Regions from separate parts of the Homo sapiens genome. Here regions 2, 3 and 4 are each linked to region 1. The links are contacts of gene promoters, found by promoter capture Hi-C in blood cells and fetal thymus (Javierre and others, 2016). All regions are on one chromosome and are shown on one strand. Each heading gives the region's core, a stretch centred on a gene start or on the middle of the fragment in contact. The rest is flanking DNA. Distances are from core to core; before and after follow the strand shown.

Evidence for each region. Contacts are between HindIII fragments. The CHiCAGO score rates a contact against its expected background, and 5 or more counts as called.
Region 2: a fragment that was not itself captured here is called in contact with the fragment with the promoter of SLFN12L in region 1 in 4 of 17 cell types (total CD8 T cells, naive CD8 T cells, total CD4 T cells and 1 more); the score reaches 8.2 in total CD8 T cells.
Region 3: a fragment that was not itself captured here is called in contact with the fragment with the promoter of SLFN12L in region 1 in 7 of 17 cell types (total CD8 T cells, non-activated CD4 T cells, naive CD8 T cells and 4 more); the score reaches 12.7 in total CD8 T cells.
Region 4: a fragment that was not itself captured here is called in contact with the fragment with the promoter of SLFN12L in region 1 in 6 of 17 cell types (total CD8 T cells, naive CD8 T cells, total CD4 T cells and 3 more); the score reaches 9.3 in total CD8 T cells.

The regions. Positions count from the first base shown.
Region 1 is chr17:35,536,019-35,539,249 of GRCh38, reverse strand. It overlaps SLFN12L (schlafen family member 12 like), which reads left to right and starts at 1,572. Exons shown (of 5, transcript NM_001363830.2): 1 at 1,572-1,677. RefSeq lists an enhancer at 2,165-2,244. The HindIII fragment of the contact is 3,143 bases long and covers 1,274-3,231 here.
Region 2 is chr17:35,464,963-35,467,931 of GRCh38, reverse strand. It overlaps SLFN12L (schlafen family member 12 like), which reads left to right. Exons shown (of 5, transcript NM_001363830.2): 5 at 1-2,969. Among named protein-coding and RNA genes, the nearest start is that of SLFN13, 18 kb to the right of the region's middle. The HindIII fragment of the contact is 5,564 bases long and covers 1-2,969 here.
Region 3 is chr17:35,444,794-35,447,591 of GRCh38, reverse strand. SLFN13 (schlafen family member 13) reads left to right here. Exons shown (of 6, transcript NM_144682.6): 2 at 178-324; 3 at 1,899-2,798. The coding sequence starts at 1,912. Among named protein-coding and RNA genes, the nearest start is that of SLFN13, 2.6 kb to the left of the region's middle. The HindIII fragment of the contact is 1,837 bases long and covers 332-2,168 here.
Region 4 is chr17:35,421,923-35,424,774 of GRCh38, reverse strand. It overlaps SLFN12 (schlafen family member 12), which reads left to right. Exons shown (of 4, transcript NM_018042.5): 2 at 1,707-2,785. The coding sequence starts at 1,747. Among named protein-coding and RNA genes, the nearest start is that of SLFN12, 9.2 kb to the left of the region's middle. The HindIII fragment of the contact is 5,564 bases long and covers 1-2,852 here.

The sequences.
Region 1 (3,231 bases), core at 323-2,822:
GCTCAAGTGATTCTCCCGCCTCAGTCTCGCGAGTACCTGAAATTTCTGACATGCACCACCAGGCCTGGCTAATTTTTGTATTTTTTGTAGAGACAGGGTTTCACCATATTAGCCAGGCTGGTCTTGAACTCCTAACCTCAAGTAATCTGCCCGCCGCAGCCTCCCAAAATACTGAGATTATAGGTGTGAGCCACCGCGCCCGGCAAAAGGGCTGCATGGTTTGCATCCTCCTTGGGGATGTCTCTTACATCCATGGTTAAGTGATAAAAGGCTTATAGGTTTTAAGCCATAAAAACTTACTGGTTTTGAGTCACAATTAAGACAGGTATACCTTTGAAGATTTGAACTTTTATATCTAAAAGGATTTTTTTTTAAAAGAAAGCTGTCATCCTAAACAAATGTCTATGGAAAGATGAGATCGAAAGAAAATATTAATAGGCAAAGATGAGAATCAATTTTTATCAAAATTATTAAATTTTGTGTTTATGTATACCTAATCATGGCTAAGATTTTAAATGAAAATTATAAGATCTATTTGTGTCTGTCTTTATGTTTATGCCTATATGTGTGTGTTGTGTATATGTGATATGTCTCTACCTCCTGATATTGCACCACTACTTGACAGTATAATTCAGAATGTCTGGGGAAGGACCTTAGCATCTGAATTTTTAAAAAGCATGCCAAAAGATTTGAACAAGCAGCCAAGATTGGGAACTAATTATCTGATTAACGAATGACATCTCTAATTCAATTCCCTCTAGTGCACAGCACCTTTTCTTATAGCTAAAAATGATTGCTAAATCCACACTGTAATAATTTTTTCAATGTATAAGGATAGAAACCCAAAAAAAATGGAACAAGAAACCAACAAGAGCTCAAGGGAATTGTGACTCCTACAGCTGTTGAGGGAGACAGCAGGTCAAAAAGTAGCAGAAACTTGATCAGAACAATAGCAACAGTATTAGCAGCTAAATTAATAGCAGTGAATCCATCTCGGCTCTAATTACAACAACTATTAGGATTATGGAGGCTACTATAAAAATTGAATGAGAAAGTCAGTGAGATGCACTGTTTAATTTCCTTTCTGGCTCTTTCACTGTTTCTTTTTGTTTTGTTTTTTCCCTTTTCCTTGCCAATAAAAAATATTTGTTGAGTAACTCAGGCCTACTGTACAAAGTAACAATTCTCTCCTCCCTTTCCATCTTCTTCCTCTCCAGTTCTACTTCTGAGAAAGTAATCCTTAATAACAGTTTGGTGTGTATCCAAAAAAGCTTTTTTGTAGCATTATTCTCCAAAGTGTTTGAAGCATTTCTTCTGATAAAGTTTCTTTAGTCTTTAGCCAGAACTAGTCTTTGGCCCACTTAGTCTATTGATAAACAGGAAATAGCACATATTCCCCCCTTGAGGCTAGAATGGCAGGCCTAAAATGAGTAGGAGAATTCTGAGAAATGGAAACTTTAAAAAGGCGGCAACCTTCTAGTTTCATTCTCAGAAATACCAAAGCAGCATTTTTCCTGGACTTGTTCTGCAGAGCGCTCAGATTTGAAAGCCATTTCTAGCCTTTGAGGATTACCACTGTCCTCAGCCAAACTGCAGGGACTCCTAAGTAGATCAGAGCTCCTGGAACTTTCTCATCTTTTCAGCATCTCAACCCTGTGGAATCTTTTAACTCCCAAGGTAAGTACAGATTGTCCAGAGAGATCTAAGCCATGCTTATTCAATGGAATGGAGAGTCTCTCAAAGAGACCTCATAACTCTAAGATGAAAATCTCCTCTGTGGCTACAGACTTTTCCAGATATACCCACTTTAGGCAAGAGAGGATGAAGTAGACACTTTAGGTCTACACTTTTAATAAATAAGTGAAATAGACAATGAGAGGAGCTGGTCCTTAGACTGTACTCACCTTGTAGCTGAGGCCAGGGATGTAGGACTCAAGCCCAGAGGAACCTGGCTGGGCTGAGAGAAAGAGATGTAGAGGGTTCTCATAGTTCTGGGGAACAAACCTTCAGATAAGACAAGTGAGGAGACTTGGGAGGAAGGGATGCCTGTGAAGATTCTCTTTTTTTTTTGAGACAGGTTCTCACTCTTTCGCCCAGGCTGTCGTGCAGTGGTGCGATCACAACTCACTGCAGCTTCGACCTTCCAGGGCTCAAAGGATCCTCCTGCTTCAGCCTTTGAAAGTGCGGGGACTACAGGCACTGAGCGTGAGGGTGCCTGGCTAATTTTTTTCGTTTCTGTAGAGAGGAAGTCTTGCTAGATTGACCAGGCTGGTTTCAAACTCCTGACCTCAAGTAATCGTCCCACCTTGGCCTCCCAATGTGCTGGGATTATAGACATTAGCCACCGTACCCAGCCTCGCCTGTGAAGATTCTTTAGCAGTTAGCTGATTGCTTCATCACTATGAAAAGGGGTTTCTTATTTTTCTTATTTTTTTTTTTTTGAGACAGGCTCTCACTCTGTCACCCAGGCTGGAGTGCAGTGATGCAATCGTGGCTCACTGCAGTCTCAACCTCCCTAGGCTCAAGTGATCCTCCCGTCTCAGACTCTCGAGGAGCTGGGACTATAGACCATGCACCACCACACCCAGCTAATTTTTTTATATTTTGTAGAGACTGGATTTCCTTGCTCAGACTGGTCTCAAACTCCTGGGCTCAAGCAATCTGCCCACCTTAGCCTCCCAAAGTGCTGGGATTACATGCATGAGCCACTGAGCCCAACTGTGTTTTTTTGTTTTTCGTAATATATAAACTATTTTGTTTTCAGAGAAACTTAAGCTATATTGACTGGGAAACTGTGATCTAGTTGGATTTAGATATAATGTTTGCAAATGTGTCACTGCATTGGGTCTTTTTGTTTACCAACATTAATTAAAGCAGATACTTGTGAAGGCCCTAGATGTTCTGTCTAGCTGTGTTTTTACATGTGACTTTTGCTTGCCTGTGTTTAACAGAAATAGACCTATGTTTTTCTTGTTATCAAATGTGTTTTATAAAATAAATGCTATCACAAATACCAGGGAGATTATTCCAGAATGGTTATTCTTACCAGAGTAATGAAAACTCTCTTGTCTTCCAAGAGGCCTAATAATTTGGGAGACCAGTTTGCACAATGATTAAGAGTCTAGATTTTTGGCCGGATGTGGTTGCTCATGCCTGTAATCCCAGCACTTTGGGAGACCAAGGTGGGAAGATCGCTTGAGCCCAGAAGTTTGAGAACAGCCTGGATAACAT
Region 2 (2,969 bases), core at 320-2,819, 71 kb after region 1:
TCTCAGACCAAAACAAAAAGCAAAAACAAACAAACAAAACAAAAAAGATAAACAGAAAACAGAATGGTGTGCAGCTGCATTTGACAGAGTTTTGGTTTTTGCTTGCTTGCTTGCTTGCTTCATGGTTGAAGTTTAGGCTCAAACGGGTCCCATATCAGATAAGCAGCTGCCTAGCCCATTGGACAATCACTATTAATTGGACCCCAGAGAATATACACACCTGCTGTGGCCTCCTGATGGGGGGGGTTTGATATTGAAAATCTATAAAAATAGGTTAAGGCCTGGGGCAAGATAAAGACCCATTGAGAGGTCCATTTGTTGGACTGGAACTTTAAAAGAAGTTGTTTGGGGAGACTCTTATGTCTCTCTGTTAAACTGGCTATTTGGGACCTATTAGGGTCATGAAAGTTTTATTGAATGCCTGTTTGTTTCGGGAGCCCATTCAGTGTGTATTTTGCAATGTGAAATGTGTGCCTTGGTTATTACCTTGGTAATTGTAAGGCCTCATATGGTGGCCTTAATATACATAGACACGTGATTTTGGGTATCTAAGAGGAAAGAGGTTCTTAGTGTTCCTTAATCTGAAAGGGACAATTCATTAGGCAATGGCTCAATTGTTCAAAAGGAATATGGAGATGGGGCCATTTGTTGGCCAGGGCATCCAGCATTCGGTAATATTCCACCTAGCTCCATCATGTATGGTGGTTGGCAGTGCCATTCATATAGTCCGTGAACTTCTATTGCTGTTCACTCAGTCAATCCAAAGGAGCTTTCCAGGTAACCAAGGGGTCTGGAGGAGAGGTGACCTCCTCCAGCACTATGGCATCTGGCAAGGGACCAAGGACTGGGGACGTCACTCCCTTCTGCGTGTGAATATGCTAGAGAGCCCAGGACTTGGTAGCCTCCTTGAGACAGGTTAGAGACAAACCTGGGCCCTCTGAGAGGCTGAGCTTGCAGGGTGCTGTTTCCATGACTGAAAGCATAACAGGTAGCCAGGTATGGAGGGTCACAGACTCAGAATCTGTGAAAGCCTCTATGTCCAGGAGAGCCCAGTATGGAGCTAGTCATTTGTGGTTTTAATGGCATATAGCATGAGGCTGAGAGCCCTCAGGCAATTCGTAGCCATCACAGGTGGTCTAGACTTTAGGAGGCATGAGTAGAGCTTGTTAAAGTCTCTTCAGTAAAGGAATCAATGCAGGCACCAATGGGTCTGTCTGTTGGTATTAATTTGGATAGATTTTAGAGCCTTTTTGTTTGAGGCTGCCACATTTAAAGTGGGTTCATTTGTGAGTTACAGCTCAATGAGATTAAGTAAAATTTGTAAGTGAAGAATATTTTGCCATGAAAACCCAAAAAGGATGAAAAGATGTTGGACTCTTATGTCCATATGAGTAGATTAAGTGACATCTCCTTGGAGGAGGTTATTAATGTAATATCATATCTGTGCTCCCAGAGGAAGGTGCATGCACTTAAGATCTTGTCTGTCCCTGTCTCTTTAAAAAGAAGGCCATCTGAAAAGGCTATATACTGTATGATTCCAACTATATGACATTCTGTAAAAGGCAAGATTATGGAGACAGTAAAATGATCGGTGGTTTCCAAGGATTAAGGGAGTGGGAGGAATGAATAGTTGAACCACAGAGGATTCTTAAGGCCATGAAAATCCTGTGTTTGATACTATATAGTAGATATATGTCATTATACATTTGTCTGAACCCATAAAATGTACAAGAAGAATGAACGCTAATGTAAAAGTCGCAATGGATTTTGAGTGATTATGATGTATTAATTTAGATTAATCAATTGTAACAAATGTACCACACTAATGGGAGATGTTGCTAATGGGGGAGGCTATGCATGAGTGCGGGCAGTGGGTATATGGAAAATCTTTGTACTTTCCGCTCAATTTTGCTGTGAATCTGCTCTAGAAAAATTAAGTATTAAAAAAGATCTTGTCTGTAAGATGTGTGCATGATGGCAAAATTGTGAAGGTACTGAGGTGTAGCCTGCAAGAGGTATATTGTGTCTCTTCAGCAATGGAGGCAAACTACAGTGGAGTCTGTTGAAATAGGCACGGAATTGAACATATTGAACATATTAGCCAAGTCTGTAAGAACAGAGTATTTAGCAGTTATTGATTGGATAGAGTTAATAATGTTAATCATACTAGATACTGGCTATGAGGCCCTAGTCGACAAGACCACAGCAATAATGTTGTAGTCCTCCACCGTGAGGTGCCTGCTGCTTATTATTTTCCAGGTTTAAGAACAGGCAACACTGGGCTGTTAAACGGACAAGCAGCAGGGAATACTTATCTCCTTTATCCCTTTTATGTTATATAAATGAGGTTTTATGTAACAACTTTCAATCCTTCAAGGGCCTATTTTAACTTACATTGAACCATATTAACTATTTTAATGGGATTTATATAATCCTATTTTATCAAGCCAATTTTTGAGTGCCAAAAATTTAATTTTAATTTATTATTTATTGTGACATGGAGTCTATGTTCAATACGAGATACTTTAAGGCACTGAGTACAACAACTATGAGCAATTCAATCAAGATATAAAATAAGGCATAGCTATTTTTAAAAAGCTATTTAGCTACCTTTTAAAATTATATGGGGTACAATGTTTAAATTTGTTGGAACCTCAGGCATAAGTATAATTTGAGTATTTATTAAGTCCACGAGGTTTCTCAATTGGTGCATTTTGGCAAATGTTAAAGTTAATTTAGAGCTTTCAGTTCTGGCCAGGCGTGGTGGCTCACGCCTGTAATCCCAGCACTTTGGGAGGCCGAGACAGGCGGATCACTTGAGGCCAGGAGTTCGAGACCAGCCTGGCGAACATATAGTGAAACCTCATCTCTACTAAAAAATACAAAAATTAGCTGGATGTGGTGGTGTGCTCCCGTAGTCCCAGCTACTTGGGAAGCTGAGGCAGGAGAATCACTTGAACCTGGGAGGC
Region 3 (2,798 bases), core at 1-2,500, 91 kb after region 1:
TGATTTTACCTACAGTATACCTGTGTAGGAGGCGAAACTGTTTCCATCAATTTCCACAGAGAAGCAAGGGCAAGAATTATCTCTAATTATTCCCATGCATGTGTAGGGGGGGTTCAAAGAAGTCTGAATCTTGACCCCTGAACTCTACTGCCTCTCTCTACATGTTTCTGCATACAGGTCTTTCAGGACTGATTTTGGTGGAAGAAGACAGCAGGCGGTGGGCATTCACTGTGCTGGTGGGAAGTCTGGTTACATTAAGAAAGGAATTCTAGCAAAGTTATTCTGTAAATACAACAGAATCAGTTGCTTTTGTTAAATATATTGGTAAGCTTCCTGATTTTTTTCACCTGAATTCTCAATTTGTTATTGAATAGTTCAGTTTTATTTAGGGTTTCAATTTTATTTAGGAAACAATATCTCTACCTTACAAAGAATCTGCAAGTAGCACTGACTATAATACCTTTATACCCAAAGGAAGAGCTGGGATAGAGCTCCCTAAGACTTTTCTGCCTGCAAAAGATATGGGTGGGGTTGCCATTTGAATACAGTTACCAATGAAAAACTATCAGCTTATCTAGGCTTTAACAATAAAGTTCATGGGGGTAAAGAGAAAAGATTTAACTTTGAAGTCCCCATATATCAAAAAGAATATTTTACAGGTAACTTGACAAAGATGTTTCAGTGGTCTCGGAATGCAAGACAGAATCCTGACGGTAGAAATTTCTAGGCAAGGGTCTAAATTAGGCAAACTGGTAAGATTGTGAATGTCCCAGCCTTTATTTCTGAATCTTGACCTCTGAACTCTGCTGCCTCTCTCTAAACATGTTTCTGCCTACAGGTACTTCAGGACTGATTTTGGTGTAAGAAGACAGCAGGTGTACACTTGATGATGCTACTTCCTTACCTCTCATTCATTCCTCAACCCATTGTAAAATAATGTCAATTAATATAGGTTCCTTTGCTGAACACCTGTGAACCAAAGCATAGTTTTAAATGCTTGTTGTAAACTATCTGAGTTAATCTTCATAATAACAGTCACAGGTGGCTGCACCATGTTTTATAGTAAGAAAATAGAGTTAGAAAGAGTAAATATCTAGACTAATATAACAGTACTAAATGGCAGAACTGGAATTCAAGCCATCTTCATTGACTCTGTTCTCCAAGACCTTAGCCCCTGGTTTATTGCCTCCTGATGCCCATTTCCCAGGTGTCTGAAGAGCATTTTTCAAAGTCACAGTTAACCTTAATTTTACTAAACTTAGGTTTAGTAACACTTTCCAGTCATTACCTAGCTGTATCTGTCAGCAGTATTAGACATCTTAAAACCTTGGCAGGTGACTTTGTTCCAGGCTTTGTTAATACCAAATACCCTTGATTTTTCTCTTACTTCTTTGATTTTTCATACTCAGACTTTTCTACAGTCTCCTTTTCAATGTGGTCTTCTTTTACTTATCTTCTAAAGTTGATGTTCATGGAGAATCTGTTCCAAACCTAGATGTTCTCATGCCATGGTACACATGCCCCTCAGCTGATCCACTACTTCTGTGTTTCAATGCTAATGATTTCACCTGGCCAGTTCTAGTGCATCTTTTAAGTCTTGGCCTAAATGGAACCTACTCCTGGAAGTCTTATGGAACCATGGTCTCCAGATTCGTTCAGATACCCTATTCAATGTGTTTTCCCTCTTAGAGCCCATGTCACAGATGATGGTAAAGGCTAATTTCATTAGTTCCCTTCCCTGCCAGCCAGTCAGCTCCTAAAGAGACTATACCTGTCTTTCTTGCTATTGTCTTATCCCAGCACATATTAGACACGTTTTAAATATTTTCTAATAAATGAATTGCAGGCCTGTAACAATTTTTTAATCAAAAATGAAACAAATATTCTAATACTTTAAGGTGCAAGTTCAACATGGAGGCAAATCACTGCTCCCTGGGTGTGTATCCATCTTACCCAGACCTGGTCATCGATGTCGGAGAAGTGACTCTGGGAGAAGAAAACAGAAAAAAGCTACAGAAAACTCAGAGAGACCAAGAGAGGGCGAGAGTTATACGGGCCGCGTGTGCTTTATTAAACTCAGGAGGAGGAGTGATTCAGATGGAAATGGCCAACAGGGATGAGCGTCCCACAGAGATGGGACTGGATTTAGAAGAATCCTTGAGAAAGCTTATTCAGTATCCATATTTGCAGGCTTTCTTTGAGACTAAGCAACACGGAAGGTGTTTTTATATTTTTGTTAAATCTTGGAGTGGTGATCCTTTCCTTAAAGATGGTTCTTTCAATTCCCGCATTTGCAGCCTTAGTTCTTCATTATACTGTAGATCTGGCACCTCTGTGCTTCACATGAATTCAAGACAGGCATTCGATTTCCTGAAGACCAAGGAAAGACAGTCCAAATATAATCTGATTAATGAAGGGTCTCCACCTAGTAAAATTATGAAAGCTGTATACCAGAACATATCTGAGTCAAATCCTGCATATGAAGTTTTCCAAACTGACACTATTGAATATGGTGAAATCCTATCTTTTCCTGAGTCTCCATCCATAGAGTTTAAACAGTTCTCTACAAAACATATCCAACAATATGTAGAAAATATAATTCCAGAGTACATCTCTGCATTTGCAAACACTGAGGGAGGCTATCTTTTTATTGGAGTGGATGATAAGAGTAGGAAAGTCCTGGGATGTGCCAAAGAACAGGTTGACCCTGACTCTTTGAAAAATGTAATTGCAAGAGCAATTTCTAAGTTGCCCATTGTTCATTTTTGCTCTTCAAAACCTCGGGTAGAGTACAGCAC
Region 4 (2,852 bases), core at 24-2,523, 110 kb after region 1:
GAACTAAAGGATTCAACCCCAACTGTCCAAATGGTTTGGGGCTCTAATGTTAACATTGTTTACATGTGATCAGGAATTTATATGGACACAGGTGGTATCCACAACCTTAGCTGAGTATCTGCATGATATTGGTCCAGCTGTGGACAGGAATATTCTGACCCCCTTTACATTCCTTTTCTAGTATAGCAATTACTACCTATGATGGACTTTATTCTCAATTGTCTCTATGCCACTCGGAAAACCTACACTTCTTAAGTTACACTTATTAACTTAACTTAAAAGTTACACTTAAGTTACACTTAAAAGTTAAACTTAAGTCACACTTCTTAACTTAAAAGTTACACTTAAATTCCACTTTTAAAAAAGTTAAACTTAAGTCATACTTCTTAACTTAAAAGTTACACATAAATTACACTTTTTTTAAAAAGTTAAACTTGTCACACTTCTTAACTTAAAAGTTACACTTAAATTACACTTTAAAAAAAAGTTAAACTTAAGTCACACTTCTTAACTTAAAAGTTACACTTGTTACATTTAAAAATAGTTAAACTTAAGTCACACTTCTTAACTTAAAAAGTTACACTTAAGTTACACTTAAAAAAAAGTTAAACTTAAGTTACACTTCTTAACTTAAAAGTTTCCATTTAGAGCAAAGCAGTGATCCTAATAGATTTTAAGGGAACAGAGCTAATGGATTAGGGATACATAGACTAAAGCACAATGTCTTAGTTTGTTTAGGCCGCCATAACAAAATACCGCAAGCTGGGTGGCTTACAAATAACAGAAATTTATGACTCACAGTTCTGGAGGCTGGGAAGTTTAAGATTAAGGTGCCAGCACTGTTGGATTCTGGTGAGGGCCCTTTTCCTGTCGCAGACTGCCTACTTATTGCTGTGTTCTCACATAGTGGAAGGGATGAGCTAGTGTTCCGGGGTCCCTTTTAGGAGAGTACTAATCTCATTCATGAGGGCTTCACCCTCATAACCTGATCACTTCCCAAAAACCTCATCACCTCAGGAGTTATAATTTCAACATATGAATTTTGGGGGAACACAAACATTCAAACCATAGCACAGGTGTTTTGTATATAAGAATTTTCCTTATTGAAAATATGTGGATATTAGATTTAAAAAGGGCACAATGACTTAGCCCACTTTGCTTAAGATCAATGGCCAAAATTTATAAATCTATTTCATTCTTATAAGAAGGAAAAATAATTAACATGACATGTTGGATGTCATTAGACCTTAACGGGAAATCTTCCAAAAGATTTATACCCATAAATGGAGATAATTAAGGTAAAAGCTGAAATTATTAAAATAAAAAGAAAAGTAGAAATAATATGTATAACTAAAGCCTGGTTCACTGAGAAGATAAAAACATAGACTCACTCCAGGGGTTGTTTAAGAAAAGGAGAGAGAAAACAGGTTGTACAATATTAGGGACTAGAAAGGAGAAAAAAGGCGGATAAAGAGATTACATAATTAGAATACATTATATAGAACTATAGTAACAAATTTGAAAATTCAGTAGGAGTATAAATTATTGCGGTCTTAGCTCAAAATTTGCCAGTCTCTTCATATCCATATACTTACCAGTCTAGTAGAATATATACAGCACAGGATTTTTTTGCATTTGCCTCATAATACAGAATTTGCTATCTTTCTAGTTCAGGTCCTATTCTAATGGCTCTGTCTATTTTACAGAAAAGAATTTCTGCTTGGACACTGCATAGCTGCTGGGAAAATGAACATCAGTGTTGATTTGGAAACGAATTATGCCGAGTTGGTTCTAGATGTGGGAAGAGTCACTCTTGGAGAGAACAGTAGGAAAAAAATGAAGGATTGTAAACTGAGAAAAAAGCAGAATGAAAGTGTCTCACGAGCTATGTGTGCTCTGCTCAATTCTGGAGGGGGAGTGATCAAGGCTGAAATTGAGAATGAAGACTATAGTTATACAAAAGATGGAATAGGACTAGATTTGGAAAATTCTTTTAGTAACATTCTGTTATTTGTTCCTGAGTACTTAGACTTCATGCAGAATGGTAACTACTTTCTGATTTTTGTGAAGTCATGGAGCTTGAACACCTCTGGTCTGCGGATTACCACCTTGAGCTCCAATTTGTACAAAAGAGATATAACATCTGCAAAAGTCATGAATGCCACTGCTGCACTGGAGTTCCTCAAAGACATGAAAAAGACTAGAGGGAGATTGTATTTAAGACCAGAATTGCTGGCAAAGAGGCCCTGTGTTGATATACAAGAAGAAAATAACATGAAGGCCTTGGCCGGGGTTTTTTTTGATAGAACAGAACTTGATCGGAAAGAAAAATTGACCTTTACTGAATCCACACATGTTGAAATTAAAAACTTCTCGACAGAAAAGTTGTTACAACGAATTAAAGAGATTCTCCCTCAATATGTTTCTGCATTTGCAAATACTGATGGAGGATATTTGTTCATTGGTTTAAATGAAGATAAAGAAATAATTGGCTTTAAAGCAGAGATGAGTGACCTCGATGACTTAGAAAGAGAAATCGAAAAGTCCATTAGGAAGATGCCTGTGCATCACTTCTGTATGGAGAAGAAGAAGATAAATTATTCATGCAAATTCCTTGGAGTATATGATAAAGGAAGTCTTTGTGGATATGTCTGTGCACTCAGAGTGGAGCGCTTCTGCTGTGCAGTGTTTGCTAAAGAGCCTGATTCCTGGCATGTGAAAGATAACCGTGTGATGCAGTTGACCAGGAAGGAATGGATCCAGTTCATGGTGGAGGCTGAACCAAGTTGAGAGCGGGGGATTCGCAACAGGAATGCATTTGGCTTGGGTGGCAGGGAGGTTTTCTCTATGGG